4 separate regions of the Homo sapiens genome follow, and regions 2, 3 and 4 are each linked to region 1. The links are contacts of gene promoters, found by promoter capture Hi-C in human tissues and cell types (Jung and others, 2019). All regions are on one chromosome and are shown on one strand. Each heading gives the region's core, a stretch centred on a gene start or on the middle of the fragment in contact. The rest is flanking DNA. Distances are from core to core; before and after follow the strand shown. Region 1 holds the start of DCTN6 (dynactin subunit 6). Region 2 overlaps EXTL3 (exostosin like glycosyltransferase 3). Region 3 has its middle 61 kb from the start of EXTL3. Region 4 overlaps KIF13B (kinesin family member 13B).

Evidence for each region. Contacts are between HindIII fragments. The study calls those that stand out against the background at their distance.
Region 2: a contact is called between a fragment that was not itself captured here and the fragment with the promoter of DCTN6 in region 1, in 1 of the 25 tissues and cell types used here (dorsolateral prefrontal cortex).
Region 3: a contact is called between a fragment that was not itself captured here and the fragment with the promoter of DCTN6 in region 1, in 1 of the 25 tissues and cell types used here (dorsolateral prefrontal cortex).
Region 4: a contact is called between a fragment that was not itself captured here and the fragment with the promoter of DCTN6 in region 1, in 1 of the 25 tissues and cell types used here (dorsolateral prefrontal cortex).

The regions. Positions count from the first base shown.
Region 1 is chr8:30,154,821-30,158,043 of GRCh38, reverse strand. It overlaps DCTN6 (dynactin subunit 6), which reads right to left and starts at 1,675. Exons shown (of 7, transcript NM_006571.4): 1 at 1,638-1,675. The coding sequence starts at 1,660. It overlaps DCTN6-DT (DCTN6 divergent transcript), which reads left to right and starts at 1,384. Exons shown (of 1, transcript NR_186490.1): 1 at 1,384-2,215. LOC124901927 (a long non-coding RNA gene) reads left to right here. Exons shown (of 2, transcript XR_007060880.1): 1 at 1-20; 2 at 162-872. RefSeq lists a silencer at 1,305-1,414 and enhancers at 1,475-1,624, 1,568-2,550, 2,375-2,584. The HindIII fragment of the contact is 3,226 bases long and covers 1-3,097 here.
Region 2 is chr8:28,706,296-28,709,518 of GRCh38, reverse strand. All of the region lies in intron 1 of EXTL3 (exostosin like glycosyltransferase 3), which reads right to left. Among named protein-coding and RNA genes, the nearest start is that of EXTL3, 6.4 kb to the right of the region's middle. The HindIII fragment of the contact is 3,077 bases long and covers 1-3,061 here.
Region 3 is chr8:28,761,255-28,764,477 of GRCh38, reverse strand. No RefSeq gene overlaps it. Among named protein-coding and RNA genes, the nearest start is that of EXTL3, 61 kb to the right of the region's middle. The HindIII fragment of the contact is 6,871 bases long and covers 1-3,223 here.
Region 4 is chr8:29,122,532-29,125,754 of GRCh38, reverse strand. KIF13B (kinesin family member 13B) reads left to right here. Exons shown (of 40, transcript NM_015254.4): 27 at 1,632-1,731; 28 at 2,263-2,389; 29 at 3,109-3,164. Among named protein-coding and RNA genes, the nearest start is that of KIF13B, 140 kb to the left of the region's middle. The HindIII fragment of the contact is 4,670 bases long and covers 1-3,223 here.

The DNA.
Region 1 (3,223 bases), core at 426-2,925:
GGAGTGGTGGGAGCAGAGAGGTGAGCCGGCAGATGGGAGGGCAAGACTTAACCTCAGATCTGTAAAAGTAACAAGTCAACAATACCTTAATCTTCACTGTAAGCTACTATCTACTGCTATCTACTGCACATAATATTTATAGTACATCTGTTCCTCTTTAGCTTATGAAAAAAGATTACAGAGTATCTACTTAAATGGAAGAAAAATCTACATTTTAATTTATGGCACCAGAAACAATGTCAGTTTTCTTTGTCAAAAATAGTCAGCAGAGGGAGCTCAACACTGCTGCTGTTCGAAATGGCTTTACTTATGCACTTGTCTCATCCCAGCCACCAACAGCCACCAACAGCCCCCAGCAATGAAGACTACCGGAGAAGAAGCCAAACTTCCTGTCCCCACATGTTTACAAAGGAGCTTGTCCACTCCACGCCTGGCAAAAAATGTCACAGTTCTAAGCTTATACACTATTGGTGGGAATATAAATTAGTTCATCTATTGAAAATAGTATGGTGATTTCTCAAAGGACTAAACACAAGTACCATTGGACCCAGCAATCCATATAGAGCTACCAATCCAAACGGAACTACCATTCGACCCAGGATCTACTCAAAGGAAACCATTGTATTAAAAAGACAACTGCACTCCTATGACTATCACTGTACTATTCACAATAGCAAAGTATGGAATCAACCTAAGTGTTCATCAACGGATGACTGGATAAAGGAAATGTGGTGTATCTATACGATGGAATACTACAGAGCCATCAAAAAGAAAGGAAACATGTCTTTTGCAACAACATGGATGGAACTGGAGGCCATTACCTTACGCGATAACTCAGAAATAAAATCAAATGCACATGTTCTCACTTTTAAGTGGGAGCTAAAATGAGTACACATAAACATAAAGAGGGAAATAACAGACACTGGGGACTCTAAAAGCAGCGAGGGTAGGAGGGGTTTGAGGGCTGAAAAATTACCCATCTGATACAATGTTCACTATTTGGGTGGTAAGTACACTAGAAGCCAACTTCACCATTACGCAATTTATCTATGCAACAAATCTGCGCAAGTACTCCTTGCATCTATATAATGTGTGTGTGTGTGTGTCACAGTTCAAGTCCAGGCGCGGCCCCCCTTTTGACAGCGACCGTAAATCCCTTTACACACCCCACCCTCCAGAGACAGGAAGGGCCTGGGGTGCGGCCAGCACTGGCGTGGGGGTCTCGCAACATGCAGCAGAGAATCCAGCGCCAAGCCGTGGGGTACAGCGGCGCCAAGCACCGCCGATTATGCGGGAGAAGGGAGCCGGCCTTCCCCAGGAAAAAGCTGACGTCACCCTCCCCTCACAGCCCCCCCCGCCCTCCCGGCCGGGAGACCCCCTCTGCGCAGGCGCATGTGGGGAGGGACGGCCAGACAGGAACAAAAACCTTCCAGGCAGCGACTCCGCGTCCCTTCTCAACCCTCCCCGCCCCCACTCCGTCGCCCCCTCCCTCAGTGGACGCCAGGTCTGGGCTTCAGGTACCTTCGGCCCGAATGCCCAGGATGAGACACCTTCTGAGTCGCCACCATTGGCGACCAGGAACAGGTTCCACCCCTACGGAAAGCTGAGAAAAGGCTTTTCTCAAGCAGCAAACCCACCTCTTTTGAGTCTTCTCCGCCATGGTACGGCCCCAATTGGAACGTAGATCGACACCACCGCCTGGGTAGAGCGATAATTCCACATGCGATTGGAGAGCCTGGCAGGGTTGGGGGAGGGGCGGAGCCGGGGTGGGGCGGGGACCCGGAAGCTTGCGACTCTTGTTTGCGTCGCGTCTGGGCGCACAGGACTGTACTTTTGGTAGCGGTGCGGGGCCGCCCGCGGACTTTAGCCCTGCATAGAGATGGGTAGACCCTAATTTGGAACAGCCATTGACTGGGCACAGGCCAGCACTTTGGGAGGCCGAGAGGCCGAGGCAGGAGGATCGCTTGAGGCCAGGAGTGCCAGACTGCGAGACTAGCCTGGGTAACATAGTGAGACCCTCTCTTCAAAAAAAAAAAAAAAAAAAAAAAAAAAAAGCCTGTCACGGTGGCCTGCGCCTGTACCCCAGCTACTCGAGAGGATCGCCTGAGCCCAGTGAAGCTGCAGCGAGCTGTGAGGATGCCACCGCACTCCGGCCTGGGCTAAAAAGCTAGATCGTGTCTCTGATAAAAGAATAAAAGCTGTTTATTGCAATCCAGTCCGCGTCATTATGCCCTCATTTTACCCACTCGCGTAGGCGTAATTACACCCTAAAGGTATTTCTCTGACCTCGCCGATGTCCTTTTCAGCCTGTCTTTCTCTACTCATTAGGGCTCCTTCTGGCCCTTTTCTCGCTCTATATGAGTGCATCCTTCCTATAGGTTAAGTGCCCTCTACCTGTTTGCTCTCTAATGAATGTCTCTGGTTCTGCCCTCTGTGCCGATCTTCACACCTGACATTCGGTTGACTAATTGACATCTCCGCTCAGAGTCGTATCGAACCTAAAACTTACAGAACATGACTTTCGATTAACACTGCCGTCCTCCCTGCAACCTGCTGCTTTTTTGATCCACACCATTTGCCTAGCTGCTCAAGCCAGACACTCAAGAGTCACCCTGGCACTCCTCACCCCTACATCTGTAATAGATCTGCAAGTTCTGCTTGTCCTACCTCGGGTCTCATGCTTACACTTTTGTCTACCGGACCATCTCTCTAATCTCAGCCGATGTGTCTCTCCCAGTTGTTCACTCATTCTGTACTTGGCCTCTGAAATCACACCTCCTCATCTCCCACCCCCAACCCTGATCCAAGTAGTTCTCTTGTAGTCAAAATCATCCTTTAAAAGACAAATTGAGGCCAGGCGCGTGGCTCAAACCGGTAATCCCAGCACTTTGGGGGGCCGAGATGGGAGGATCGCTTGAGGCCAGGAGTTGGAGACCAGCCTGGTCAACACAGCATGATCCCGTCTCTATATATTTTTTCTATAATGTATTTTTTTAATGGAAAAAAATTAAAAATAAGAGCCAAATTCAGTTATTTCCCCTTCCTCTTAAAATCTAAAATCCAAACTGCTTTCCATAACCTATCTCTGAGCTACATCCAGCCCCTGCCTACTTCTCTCTTTCTCTTTCTATGTGTTCGATCACACCCTCATTCTCCAAAAAAGCAAAGCTGACTCTCCACCCCCAACCGCTTCCACTTGCCCCCACCCTAACACCTTCTGACC
Region 2 (3,223 bases), core at 274-2,773, 1.4 Mb after region 1:
GAGAGACAGGAGAGACAGGAGGCGCGACAGGGAAGAAGGGAGTCACTGCTCCATCTGGCTGTTATGCCTTCCACGTGGAAGGTATGAAGGGAGAACAGAGTGAGAAACAGAGAGAGAGGCTAGACGCTTTCCAGATGTTCCCAATGAAACCTTCAACGGCCTCTAATATCTTAAATAATTATGATAATAGCTAACAGGTATTGAATGCTTACTGTATGCCGGGTTAAACCTATTACCATATATTCCTCAACACACTCACTTAATCCTCACAGCAATCCCGTGAAGTGGGTTTACTGTTATTCCTGTTCTGTACACGAGGAAACCAAAGCACAGAGGCTAATGAGCCATGGGTCACCCATGTTATGTGGTAAAACTTGAATTCAAACCAAAGCAAGCTGGCTGTAAAGCTCATACCTTTAATGCCTTTATTATGTTACACTGTCTATATTAATTCAAGTAAGAGTGCGAGCAGGCACACACACACATGCCTATCATGTGTATCATTTTTACATTCTCCATATCACTGCTACTCCGCTGTAACCATGAATAATAATTACAATTGACACACATAATATTCCTCTAAAACCCAAAACCAACACTATATTCAAAGTATTTACCTGCTAAAGAGAATAGCAGACTCAGAACAAAAGATGTTTGCCACTGTGCCTATGGCCCACCTGTATATCTGTGCTTGTAGTACTATTTTCTCTTTTTCATTTAGGTCAAAATAGGCCCATCAAGTGGCAGAACTCCATGACAACCCAGGTGCGGGTTCTACAGAGCTGTCTGCATGCTGCTGTCATTGCTGCCATCACCAGGAGCCCTTCCAATTAGGTAAAGAGAGTTCTCCACAGGAAACCATTTCAGTGAGGTCACTGAAAGCAGTATTTCAGAGGATTGTTTTGTTTTTAAGTACTAACAACCCAAAAAAACATCATTTCCTGATTTCCTAACTACAGGCATGACAAACAGCCTGTCAAGGCAAGACAGTACCTAGTTCGTGAAGTCAGGAAGTATGTTAATAAGCACTAAAACACATTTCCCAACACTATCACTGATTTGTCTTCTGTTTAAAAAAAAAAAAAAAAAAAAGGCACTTCCCAGGGAAACTAATTGTAGATAAAGAGTAAGCTCTAAGAACTACATGTAGACACTTCCCAAGTTACAGGAGACCAAGGCCCTATGTTTTTCACAATCCAACGACCACAGTGGTTTCTTACTGTGTAACCTAGCCTGGATGAAAAAAGGGAAACAGAACATCCTCAGCAATTAAAAAGCAAAACGAAGTGTGAAAAACTGGTTGTGCCTTGACCTACTGACTGAAGAGTGAAGATTATGATGCAACCAGAGAACCAGAGTTTGAGCCGCCCTTATTACAGGGCTGTTTGAAAGGGAAAACAATTTATTCTTTGGGCTTAAGAGTAGGTTTCTAAATCCCAAGGTGTTCCACAAATGCCACTAGCAGACAAATCACAAAATACAAAAGGAACTCATCAATAAGTGGTGAGCATTCCTTCCGCTGCTGAATATATAGATATTAACAAGGAAAATGAGGCTATTGATTACTCCAAGTTATCTGTTTACTTGGCAACAAACCTGGGCCCAGAAGTCTCAACTCCCAGGATAAGTCCTCAATTTGAAAATTATGCCATTGCCTTATCTGCTTCCCTTCCCACCAGTTCGCTAATGTCCCACAAATCCAAATCGTATTGTTTTACCAGTCAGTTTAATTATGTGTAAAAATCAGATTCACCACTTAAGAATTTTTTCAAATAACAAACCGGGACCGTGCTACATTAACTAAATCAGAATTCCTAGGTGTGGGGGAAAACTCCTGCAGTTTGACAAAGTTCCCAGGTGATTTTAATGCAGAGCACACAACCCTAACTCCAAAACTATTGGTCTAATGAAGAATTGATAGTAATGGAGATTCAGATTGATGGCAGCTCAATCAACATAGACAGCTAAGGAAGACAAACAGCACTATCCCTTAGCTAACGCAGAAAGTCCGCACTTCAATGCACCACATACCCTTGGAAGATGGGGAGGAGAGGGCTTTTTCATAATTGCTACTGATTTATATTTACAGTGTGCTAGGCACAGTACTCTAGATAACACACTTCACACATACATTTCATCAGCCACATGGGAGTACTGTCATTTCCACTTCACCGATGAAGCAGTGGTGTATCACCAAGGATAGGAAACTTGTTCAAGGCAATACAGCAACCAAGTTACAAATCCAGGTCCGTATGACCTACAGCCCTGTATACTGCTTCTTGCTTATCTACCATTTGTTTACTTAGAGGATTCATTTTGTCTTAATTCATTTTACAATCATTATGTATTACTTTTGTAATTAAAAATATTACCTTGTTGCAATCTTTTTAAAGAACACCTCATTACATTTTTCAATAAATAATGTGACACATCTATTTGGGAAAAAAAATAAAGTCAGATTACTGCATGACAAACCAAATCCAAAAATAAGTTCCAGGTGGATTCAAGAGTTAATTATAATAAATGAACCGTAACAAGAAAAGGAAAATATACATGTAATCTCATCTCAAGTACAGCCACTTTTCCAGGAATCCAAGCAAAAGTAAAATCCAGAAATGTTCAACAGGTTTGACTATATAAGAATCAAATGATTCTATGTATTCAGAAGGAAAAAAAAAAAGCTTAAATTTGATTAAAAATGGGGAAGCCTGCTCAATATGACAGAATTAAAAGAAAGCAATCAACAGTGGTCAACGGACATAAATAAGAAGTTACACAAAAAAAGGGTTCAAGTGATAAACATGTTTATATGTTTAACCTTCCTAGCGATCAAAGAAATACACATTTCAAACAAGATACTGTGATATTTTCCACTAATAAATCATCAAAGTATTGTAAAATTATAATATCTGGTGCTAAGCAGGATCCAGGGTAAACATTCCCACACTTGGCTGCTGGGATTGCAAATTGGCACACCTTTCTGGAGCACAATTTGGCAGTAATAAAAACACTGAAACTGTGTCTATCCTCTTTCCCTGTAATTCTATCCGAGAAATTATTCTTAAAGAATCATGAGTGAGAAAAAAGATTTAACTTCCAAAATGCTCATACTAAAACATTAAAATAGTGATTAAAGTACAGTACAACTCTGAACTATGCTGGCTGCTACAATGTGGCAGGTACTCTTGTGTTAGTAGAAAGGTAAACTGAAAAGTAATTTGCC
Region 3 (3,223 bases), core at 466-2,965, 1.4 Mb after region 1:
AGACCAGCCTGGCCAAGATGGTGAAACCCCATCTCTATTAAAAATACAAAAATTAGCCAGGCGTGGTGGCAGATGCCTGTAATCCCAGCTACTCAGGAGGCTGAGGCAGAGAAATGCTTAAACCCGGGGAGGGGGCGGGGGGATGGAGGTTGCAGTGAGCCAAGATCGCACCACTGCACTCCAGCCTGGGAGACAGAGCCAGACTCTGTCTCAAAAAAAAAAACAAAAAAAAAAACCATCTATCTATCTATCTATATATATACATGTGCACACACACACACACATGCACACGTTAAATGTAAACTTTTGAGACACAGGACCACAGATCTTTGAAAGGGGTGTAAACGCCCATCTCCTCAGGCATGTAGAATATTTCTTGCTTCTCTTCTGTTGGCATTGCAGGCCATTGAAAAAAATGTGCAAAGCCCCCGTGTAATGGTGTTTGTGTTAGAAGGATTTACCCTTTACCTTTTTCTACAATAAACATTCCTAACCCATGTGTAAGCCTCCCTGATGTAGTTATCAAATCAATCACCAGTAAAAAGTAACTTAATTCTCCTACAATAAATTCTGAGTTACCAAACACATTATCAATTAAAATAAGTTTGCTAACGTTTCCTTAAATTATCCAATATAAGTTTTTACTCTAGTAACTATTTACATTTGCTTCACATACTTTGGAAATAATGGACTTTCATTTCACAAAGCCTTTCCCAATCATCAGTAAGCACCTTCCAGTCATCAGTGGGCATTAGTCGGCAGCTGCTCACATATTCGGTGTGTTGTGCCCTCTCTCATGGCTTTAGCTCACCGTCACAGATAAGCATTTCTCCCAGACTTACAGCTAGAGAGGAGCACATTTCCAGGACCATGAGCACCCTGGGGGCAGGGTCTGTTTTTTCCACCTTGTCCCAGCATGAGGCTTGTGGAAGAAGGTAAGGAAAGAAAATTTCAGAAATATTTAGGAATTACAGGCCAAAACAACATTTCCTGGTGGGTCAGTTTTTTAACTGCAATGTTCTAAACATGGGAACCTGCACATAAGTGTAAAAATCCCTATCATTTAGCCCATGCTTTAAAATAGCTACTCGATTCAGTGGGCAGCTTCCTGATGAGATGAATCAGAGGTTGGTAACTGTGGCCGAAAAGCCAAATCTGGCCCACAAGCAGAGTTGTTAGAAAAAAGATGCAACAGAAATCACATGTGGCCCACAAAGCCTAAAACACTGGCTGACCCTTTACAGAAAAAGTATGCCAATCCCTGCTCAAGTGCTGTGTGTGGGAACATTTCTGTAGTTTATTCAAGTAAAGGTCAAATAATGGAATGGCAATGTAACAGCTCCCATCAGACCTGACCCTCCTAGAGGTAAAACTATAAACTCCAGACGTATGTAGTTACGTAAGTAGGTAGATAGAACAACCTACCACAAAAAAACAATTCCATTAGAGATTTTATCACCCTTGTAATAATTATTAAAACAACTAGACAAAAAAAAAGTCATAGATGACCTGAACAAAACTGTCAAAAACTTTGACTTAATTGATACTTTTTAGAATACTTGCTCTGCAGCAGCAGAATGTTTACTATGAAAACCATATGCTAGGTGATAAATCTCATTACATCTGAAAGGACCGAACGCATACACAAAACCTTCTCCCACCACAATGGAATTAAATTCAAACTCAACGAAGTATTTTGGAAAACCACAAATATTTAGAAATTAAACACTTCTAAAATAGCTCATGGATCAAAGAAGACATCCCAAAATGAATTGGAAAGTATTTTGAACAGAAAATTAAAGCTCAACATGTACAGGATACTGCTAAAGTAGTGCTTAAAAGTCATCTTATACCTTTAAATGCTTACAGAAAAAATGAAAGACCTAAACTTGATCTAAATTTTTACCTTAGAAGACTATAAAAAGAGCCAAATAAACCCAAAGAAAGTAGAGGAAAGAAATCATAAAAATAAGCAAAACATGAGCAAAACAGAACAGAGAAAACTAACAAAGCCAAAAGCTGATTTTTTAAAACATCAGCAGAACTGATACACACCTCATTAGACTGATCAAGGAAAGACAGGACCGACTGCCCATATGGGCAGTGAAAAAACTTTGGTTATCACTACAGATCCTACGGATATGAAGAAGACAGCCAATCAGAAAGGAAAGGGGGGTATTACTAAAGAGCCTACAAATATTAAAGGGATAAAAAGAACACCAACTTATGCCAACAGATTTACCACCACAGATAAAATGGAAAATTTCCTTTGAAGACACAAATAGACAAAGCTCATTCAATAAGAAAAAGAACTTGATATTCACTTAAGAAATTAAATTTATTATCTTCTCACAAGGAAAACTCCAGGCCTAGATGGTTTCCCTGGGAAACTATCAAACATTTAAGGAAGAAATAACACCAATCTTGTATAACCTCTATCAAAAAGAGGAAGGGGGAATATTCCAGTCCCTTTTAAGGGGCCAGCATAACTCTAATACCAAAACCTTATAAAGTCATTACCAAAAAAGAAAATGAGAGGTAAATATCTCTCATGAACATCAATGCAAAAAAAAAAAAAAAAAAAACTTACCAGCAACCTGAATCCAGCAATACACAAATAGGATAATATGACATGACCAAGTAGGGTTTATCCCTGGAATGCAAGGATAATTAAATATTTGAAAGCCAATCTAATTTATAATAGAATAGAGGATCATTTCGATAGATACAGGAAAAAAGCATTTGATGAAATTCTCTAACAGCACTCAGCAGACAGGAATAAAAGGGAACATACTCAACCTGATAAAGGTTATGTATGAAAAACTTAACAGCTCAGTGAAATACTAGAGCTTTTCCCCAAATATTGAGAGCAAAGCAAGGTGCCGATCCATACTACTGTTCTATAGTGTTCTCGGAGTCCCAGTCATTGCAATAAGGCAAAATTGAAGAGGAAAAGGCAGGCAGGCATACAAACAGATAAAGCATAAAGGTAGGAAAGAAGTAAAACTGTTTTCAGATGAGACTTTTTACATAGAAAGTTCTAAGAAATCTAGAAAACTACTGGAATAAGCTCACAAGACTGCAAAATACAAGGTTAGTATCCAAAAGTCAACTGTATTTTATATATTAACAAGTTTTTGAGAGAGAGTCTTACTTTGTCACCCAGGCTGAAGTGCAGTGGCACAGTCATGGCTCACTGCAGCCTTAAACTCTCAGGGTCAAG
Region 4 (3,223 bases), core at 346-2,845, 1.0 Mb after region 1:
TTTTTTTCCTTTGTTTTCTTTTCCTAACCTCCTGCAAGACTTTGTTTCTTTCTGTGCAGTTTCATCTGTTAGTCATCGTTCAGGACTGTCAGGGCTCTTTGGAGCCTGATTATGTCATCCGTGTAGTCACTTTCCTGGTTTTGCATCATTCTAATTTGATAGAAATGTCTGCTTTCCTATAAGTCACTGATAAAAACACTGTATCAGATAGGATTAAATACAGAGTCCTATGGCACAACAATAGAGACTTTTTTCAAGCTGACATTAATCACTATTCTTCGGATGTGATATTTGAGTCCTCTGTGATTTCACTTAAGTAGATGCATCGCACGTTTCTCCATCTTGTCCACAACAATGTCATAGGCTATTTGGTTAAGTGCCCTAGTAAAGCCCAGACACACTATATCTGCAGCATTCCACTGACCTACCCAGTCTTGTAACCTTATTAGAAAAGGAAATGAGGTAAGATTGATATTCATGTAGGTGTTGACTGGTAGGTTGTTATTCTGTTGATGACAACCCCTATCCCCTCTTTCCCCTACCTGTTGCCCCACAAAATGCATAAAAACAAGTGAGAGAAGCATTTACATGTTGTCTTCAAGAGCCTGTTTTGACATATAGAAAGCAGAAGTTACAAAAGTTGATTCTTCTGATTATTCTAAGGTACATAAATTGAAAGTGGTTTTTTGTTTGTTTTGTTTTTTGGAGACAGAGTCTTGCTCTACCACCCAGACCATAGTGCAGTGGAGTGATCTTGGCTCATTGCAACCTCTGCCTCTCAGGTTTAAGTAATTCTCTTGCCTCAGCCTCCCAAGTAGTTGGCATGAAAGGTGAACACCACCATGCCCAGCTAATTTTTTTTTTTTTTTTTGGGATGGAGTTTTGTTCTTGTTGCCCAGGCTGGAGTGCCATGGCACAGTCTCGGCTCATTGCAACCTCTGCCTCCCGGGTTCAAGCGATTCTCCTGCCTCAGCTCCCAAGTAGCTGGGATTACAGGTACCCGCCACCACGCCTGGCTAATTTTTGTATTTTTAGTAGGGATGGGGTTTCACCATGTTGGGGAGGCTGGTCTCAAACTCCTGACCTCAGGTTATCTGCCTGCCTTGACCTCCCAAAGTGCTGGCATTACAGATGTGAGCCACTGCGCCTGGCCAATTTTTTATATTTTGAGTAGAGACAGGGTTTCGCTGTGTTAGCCAGGCTGGCCTCAAACTCCCGTCCTCAAGTGATTCACCTGCCTCAGCCTCCCAAAGTGCTGGGATTACAAGTGTGAGCCACCACGCCCAGCCATATTGGAAGATTATTGAGTCCTGTTTATCGGTTTTATCCAGCAAAGAGACCTTTTAGAAGATTTTTGTTGCAGGTGCTTAAAGCTCTACCCCCAAGCCATTAGAAATAAAACTGGTTCTGGATACCTGAGAATGCCCTTTCTGTTCTAGAAAATAATGCTTTAAATTCTGAAAATAGCTGTTTTGAAAGATGGGCGCAGTCAACTGGTGGTAGCAATAAAGAAATTATTGTATACTACCTTACCTTTCCAAGGCATAGTAGAGCAAGGTAAGATAGAGCATCAGTTTCAGATAGATTATCTTGACATTACATTGAATATGATTTTCCTTGCTTGCTTCCAGGATCGAGATTTAGAGAGACTTCGTAGAAAATGGCTAAATGCATTAACAAAACGTCAGGAGTACTTGGATCAACAATTGCAAAAGCTTGTCAGTAAACGTGGTAGGAAAAACAAATAGAATATTTTTCTCCCCTGCAAATCAATGCATAATTAATTATTCTCCCTTTGTAGCCACATCAGTTAAGAACCAGATGAACACATCAGTAATGGGGATGGCAGGAGCAGATGAGTGTTACTCTTTGTTTATGTCATATCCTTTATCCAGCTGTCGTATCTTGGTGGAGGTCTTCCTCCCACCCCCTACAAAGAAAGAGCAAATACAGTGCACAAAGCATACATGGTTTGTCAAAGATAACATAAAGGAAGGTGGTAACTTTTCTTATCCAAAGGGCTCGAGTCCTCTGACTCTGGACCAGTCACTCCTGTGCGGTCCCTCTGTAGGCCTCCCAGGAACTGAAGATGGCCTCTCTGCAGGAGCCCATCTGACCTCTCTAGCTGTGGGTTAGTTTTTATCACTGGGGAGCACTTGTGAGCTAATAATTGAAATATAGGCAAATCCAGTCTTTACTCAGGACAAAAAGATAAATGGCAAGTGAAGTTTTGTCATTGAATCCTCATTCTCGATGTTCTAGATAAAACAGAGGATGATGCTGACCGTGAAGCGCAGCTTCTGGAGATGCGGTTGACCCTAACTGAGGAGAGGAACGCGGTGATGGTCCCCTCTGCTGGCAGTGGTATTCCAGGGGCCCCAGCAGAATGGTATGAACCCTGTGGTGCGTCTTGTGAGGTCTGAACGCTCACCAAGCCACTTGCTTTTAGCTTGAATTTTGCGTGTGCTACGGTTAATGGAAGAGTCAATAGCATGGGGGGAAATGTTGTTTAAATTAAAGGAACTGTTAAATTATTTTCATGAGTTGAATAACTATGGCCTAAAACTGTTTTATTAAATAATGTTGTTATTGGCCAAAGTCATTAAGATTTCTGAGAACTTAAATCAATATTTAATACCACTGCACTTAGCATTAAGAAAATAGTTAATATGTTAATTACTTGGGTCATTCCCTTAGAAGACTGTTCGGTCATAAGAAAATTGCATCTCCACGCGATTTTGGTTTTGGTGCTGGCTTAAACTGTACTGTCAGCAAATGTTCTGTGCTACGTTATAGAAATTAAAAATAGTAAATTTAGCCAGAGGAAGCCCTTAAGTATATCATTTTATAAGAAAGTAGGTTTAAACAAGAGAACTTCACTACAAACAGGTAGTGTCTTATAAGGCTAAGTTCAAATGTCAGGGTATGAAGCAGCAGCTACAGTGGAGGCTTTGTGGCCTCTCTGATTCTGGATTAGAGTAAAATCAGGGCCAGGGTTATTACTGCTTTGCCCTGTAACAGCCCTGAATGCCATTAAGGCTGTGTTCCTACGTGCATGCCACTGAGAAAGTAACCTGAGGCAGATGCCATTTGTTCTTCCCGTTTTAGGACCCCAGTACCTGGGATGGAGACACACATTCCTGTTATATTCCTGGACTTAAATGGTAAGTTAGGAGGTGTTTTCTGAAGGCTTACCTCTGAAAATTTAGTGCCTACATAACAT